Linked DNA regions of Homo sapiens: region 2 is linked to region 1. Evidence: promoter capture Hi-C in 16 types of primary human blood cells and fetal thymus (Javierre and others, 2016). All regions are on one chromosome and are shown on one strand. Each heading gives the region's core, a stretch centred on a gene start or on the middle of the fragment in contact. The rest is flanking DNA. Distances are from core to core; before and after follow the strand shown.

Region 1 (2,787 bases), core at 118-2,617:
AGATGGAGTCTTGCTCTGTCACCCAGGCTGGATGGAGTACAGTAGAGCAATCTCGCTTACTGCAGCCTTCAACTCCTGGGTTCAAGCAATTCTCCTGCTTCAGCCTCCCGAGTAGCCAGCATTACAGGCATGCACCACCATGCCCAGCTGTTTTTTTTTTTTTTTTTTTTTGTTATTTTTAGTAGACACAGGGTTTCCCCATGTTGGCCAGGCTAGTCCTGAACTCCTGACCTCAAGTGATCTGCCTGCCTCTGGCCTGGGATTACAGGCTGTGCCACTGCGCCCAGTCCAAAGTCCATGCTTTCTACAGGACTTTTCCTTTGCTCCTACAGATGTCTGGCCCTAAACAGAAAAAAAGCCTTTTCAGTGTGGCGACCTAAGGGAGAAAAGACATGGCTGCAAATCTACCTTCCAAGGAAATGTGTCTTGGGGAAACATTAATGAAGCAAACTAAGGCCTAAGCTAAGGCCTAAGCACTTAAGTAATAGCTTTACTCAGTGCCCCTGCCACAACCAATAAGGTACTTGAGGCGACTTCAGAGGGGTTGATTTGTCTCTTCAGGAGAGACACACATCTGCCCTGACTCTTAGGGCTTGTTTCTATTAAGTACCCAGCTAGATTAGGATGAAGTCACTTCTACCTTACCGGCTTATCTTCTTAAGAGCAGCTCCCTCTCTGACAAACTGGCCAGATGCTCAGCGTCTGGAAAAGTGAGTGAGAACCTCCAACGTAGGGTAGGTGTTTTGAGGATTTATGAGGTGGGCAATGGTGGGTACTGGGGAAGGAAAACAAAGTGAAGGGCCGGAGATCTAGGTGGGCCCAATTCCGAGAGGCAAGCGAGGCTGCGGGCACTGAGAGGGCAGCGGCAGCCAGTGCTGGGTGACCGTCAGGGTCTCACCTTTCACTGCCAGGCGGATGTTCAAACAGAGTTTGGAGAAGATGCGACTCCTTTCGACGTCCTTCGGACCCTTGATGTGCCTGACTTTGGACCACTTGTTGTGCCCGGCGGGGACAGCCGCGGTAAAGTGCAGCGTCCTGCCCGGAGCGGCACCGCAGCCCCGGGGCTCGGGGTGGGAGGGCCGGGGGTCGCGCGGAGGAGCCGCCCTGACCCCGGGGCCTCGTGCCAGCAAGCATCGGGCAGCGGCCCTGCTTAGGCTGGCAGCAGCCCAAGCCGACATCGGTCCCGACCCTGGGGTTCAAGCTGCTAGCAGCAGCGGCCAACGCCGGCGCGTCTCTTCCACTGCCGGAACAAGCAGTTCCGGACCCCGCGGCCGCCTGTGCCGGTCACCTGAGATCCAAAGGCTTGGGCCCGCCCGGGGCGGCTCAACAGCTAATGACCCTACACTGTCCCCGCGGCACCCGGGACTGGGGGCCCTTGATGGCGTAGCACACTTCCTTTACCGGGTTCGCTCCAAAAACACGTCCCCACTGCCCGCAAAGTCCGTTCCGTGGCTGCACGGTACTCGCTCCTCTCTTGCCCTTGAGCAGATCTAGTTAGTGCTCAAGCCCTCACGGTTGCCTAGAGAGCGCCGGACTTTGTTTCTCATAATGTTTTAGTGGAGACACATCTGAGTTATGAAACTGACTTTGCTTCCAAATTGCTGCCTAAATCTGAGCAAGTCCAGAATGATATTTTGTTGTTGCCTCATTGTACTGGGAAAGAAACTGCTGCCAGAGAAGTGAATTGCCCAAATGTTTAATCTCTCTGAACGTCTTCCCTATTTATAAATAAGGATCTAATATTTGCTTTATCAACATAGGAAAGTTAGAAACACAAAATGAGCCCTTAGAGCTTTAAAGTAATAAAGTTTTATGTAAATAGCCACAGTGCACTTAAGCCCCTAGATGCAAGAGATGGTTTGGGACAGACTCAGATGAGTCACAGGCCTTTGGGAGAGGGAGAATGATCAGACAAGCCCTTTGGAGCTAAACTCCCCTCTTCATTTTCTCTCTGCTGTCTCGAAAGAGAAAACCGAATCCGTTAGAAGATGGAGAGAAACAAAGCGGCAGCTGCTGAAAAGCTTTGTAGTGACTCCCATGCTGGTGAGATTAAGTCCAAAGGGCATGACATATCAGGTAGAGAAGCAGGACAGCCGGGCGCGGTGGCTCACGCCTGTAATCCCAGCACTTTGGGAGGCTGAGGCAGACGGATCGCTAGGTCAGGAGTGCCAGACCAGTCTGACCAACATGGTGAAACCCCGTCTCTACTAAAAATACAAAAAAATTAGCCGGCCGTGGTGGCGCGCGCCTGTAATGCCAGCTACTCAGAAGGATGAGGCAGGAGAATCGCTTGAACCCGGGAAGAGGAGGTTGCAGTGAGCCGAGATCGCGCCACTGCACTCCAGCCTGTGCGACAGAGCGAGAATCCAACTCAAAAAAAAAAAAAAAAAAGAGAGAGAGAGAGAGAGAGAAGCAGGACAGTGTGAAGTCCAAGTTTGTGCCCTCTGCAGTTAGACTGGGTGGCTTCAAACCCTGGTTGTTCCATTTTCTAGTGTATCCTTGGGCAAGTTCCTTTACTTTCCTGTTTCAGTTTCCTTACCATAGAATGGCCTTGTGAGGACTAAATGGGATAATGGATGCAAAGCACAAAAGCATAGATTTTTTATTTTTTATTATATAAGAACCTCCATGGGGCTGGGTGCGGTGGCTCACGCCTGTAATCCTAGCACTTTGGGAGGCCGAGGCTGGCAGATCACTTGAGGTCAGGAGTTCAAGACCAGCCTGGTCAACATGGTGAAACCCCGTCTCTACTAAAAATACAAAAATTAGCCAGGTGCGGTGGGTGCC
Region 2 (2,787 bases), core at 172-2,671, 530 kb after region 1:
CTTGAGTTTATTTTACCATGATTTTTAAAATTATATAGAAACAAATCCATTTCATTGTATACATCTTCTTTTAAGAAATAACCAAAACAGTATATTCCCTCATGCATGTTAAGAAAAGCTAAAACAAATTTTACTTTATTGTAAATAATTGCCTCAATTTTGTTATATAGAAACAGAAAAATTATGCATCATAAATTCATTAAAATAGGCACAGTAAAACAGAAATTAATATATTAAGAATGTAAAGTATAATATAAAATATGAAACTAAACCAAGCAAAATCTTTAACATAGTGGTCTATACACCTATAAATTTGTTATCACTTTAATCAGATGAAAAATGCATTAAGGCATCAAACAATTTCCTTTGTTCGTTCTTTCATACAATCACTTGTCTTATTTTTAACTTGACAGGGAAAAGGGGTAGTAGCTGCAAGCAGGTTTAATAAAGAGTATTCTTGCTCTGTCATCTACTTATTCTATGGTTTATTGTTTTTAATAGAGCTCGTGTAGTAACATCTATTGCTTTTTAAACAGAATGGCCTGTTTTTTAATTCATTATTGATATAAAGCTTCCTTTTAAGTATATTTATTATATGTAAGGCCTAGCAATAATTAAATCCAATTCATGTATATATATCAACTATTCTCTATTTTGTAGAGGGCTGTTAAACTAGCAAGTACAGTAACATTTAATCAATCGATTCCAAATATACGACGACAATACAAAATAATAAGTACATTGCCAGGAAATATTCATATCTCTTAGTCCACAGTAATCTAGTAAAACACTCCACTAATTTAGTCAGATTTGTAAAATAACTTATCACATAGAAAGATACTCAAAGTGATAGGCAACCATATTTTTTCCTCCAGTATGAAAATACTTTTTAAATATAAATCAGTTTATTTTAGTTCTGCTGTTACTATATAAGTTACCACATTTGAATAAAAATAGACATGTTGACAAAATAAGGTGTTATCTGAAAGACAAATATAAGAAATTTTTCTTTGACATTATTTTTAAAAATTAAAGCAAAAATCTACTCATGGATTATCATCTCTGAATGGCTGATCTGCCTCTGTTGAAATTAAAACTTAAATTCTTTAATTTTGTCCTTTTAAAGGAAATGTGAACATTTACAATCCTTCTTAACTGTATATCAAATTCTAAGTAAACAACTCTATAAATATGGATTCTTTTTAATAAGGCTCAGTATTTCAACTGGGCCAACTCAAATTTAATTTCTAAGTTTTAAACCCTCTAGGATTCCTTCTACCTCACTCTCTTGTGAATTAATATTCAATATGTCCAAAAATCCTAAAGTTTTCTCTTCTTTCTAAAATGTATTTAAGAACAGAAAGGCAGCCAATAATTACTATGTACTCTCTGCCAGGTATTTTACATAGTTCATCAAAGCCCTATGAAGTAAAGACCTATTTCACAGCTGAGAACACTGAAACTCATGGTGACTAACTGAAATCCAATGACAAAACCAGTAAAAATGAAACTGGATTTTAACCCAAGGATGTTTGACTCAATACATCTCTCTGATACTAATTTCTACCCAAATTTATTAAATATTTTGAGTTCAATTCATGTTCCCGTTTTATTCTTTTCTCATAAAAACGATGTTAAAAAAGCACTAATCAGTAACTATAGCAATTATTCCTTTACAGAATAGAGGCATTCTAACAAAGCAGGTTATGAAGACTTAGTCTTACAATATAACCTTCCTATGTGCTTCCAATATAAAATCAAAAGATATATTCTCTAAAGAAAAAAAAATGTTTTTCCCAAAAGCCATGTTTGGTGTCTCTGTCTATTCATTCTACTAAAAGAGAGCTTCTCTTGACAATCAACTGGCCACAACCAAAATAAAGTACCTCAGTAGGAATTCTGGTACACTGCCAACCCTATAACCCTCCCTCTCCAGGTCTATATTACTGCTCCTTTCTAATGAAGACCACTATTTAAGAAATTCTAGGGCTGAGCAAAATGATTCACACCTGTAATCCCAGCACTTTGGGAGCCCAAGGTGGGAGGATCGCTTGAGGCCAGGAATTTGAGGTTACAATGAGCTATGCTATGATCACACCACCACACTCCAATTAGGTGACAAGGGGAGACCTTGACTCTTTAAAAAAAAAAATTCTACACTCTATTAAGAAAATTTGGCACCTGACATTCTGTATACCCATGCTTAGGTAACTAAAGTCCCTATCATGCATCTATTCCCCACATCTATGAAATCTATCACAGCAAGCTTAGGTATACATGCTTTACAAGGAATTCAAGAAAAAAGCTGCTCTAACAAGAAAAGAAGTAAGTAAAAGTAGTTCTTTCTAAATGCTTACAGTGTGAAAATACGATACATTTTCTTTTTAGTGAAAAGGTCAATGCTCATGACACTGATATATGAATTACTCTTATCAAATCAACCACTTGAGATGGAAACATTTTTAACTCACCTATAGTGAGGCACAATGTTAACCTGCATGTGCTGTCATAGAAATTACATTGTGAGAAACAACTAAGAACCCTGACCTGCTTAATGTTTTTTAAAAAAATCTTTAAACACATTTACCTAGAATAATTTGCATTTTAAAAAGATACCCCTTATAGTAGTGTAGAGACTAGGGTGGTGGTTTTCGATACTGGATGAACAAACACATGTGGTTCTACTCTAATAAAATTTTCTTTATGGACACTAAAATTTTCATTTCATATAATTTATATGTCACAAAATATTATTATCCTTTTAATTTTTTTTAACCATTTACAAAT

The links. The method cuts DNA at HindIII sites, captures the fragments that hold promoters and counts their contacts. A CHiCAGO score of 5 or more calls a contact.
Region 2: a contact is called between a fragment that was not itself captured here and the fragment with the promoter of TACO1 in region 1, in 1 of 17 cell types (M1 macrophages). The highest score is 5.2, in M1 macrophages.

Annotation. Positions count from the first base shown.
Region 1 is chr17:63,599,475-63,602,261 of GRCh38, reverse strand. TACO1 (translational activator of cytochrome c oxidase I) reads right to left here and starts at 1,367. Exons shown (of 5, transcript NM_016360.4): 1 at 899-1,367. The coding sequence starts at 1,178. The HindIII fragment of the contact is 11,259 bases long and covers 1-2,023 here.
Region 2 is chr17:63,070,657-63,073,443 of GRCh38, reverse strand. The region is part of intron 2 of TANC2 (tetratricopeptide repeat, ankyrin repeat and coiled-coil containing 2); the gene reads right to left. Among named protein-coding and RNA genes, the nearest start is that of TANC2, 110 kb to the right of the region's middle. The HindIII fragment of the contact is 1,695 bases long and covers 574-2,268 here.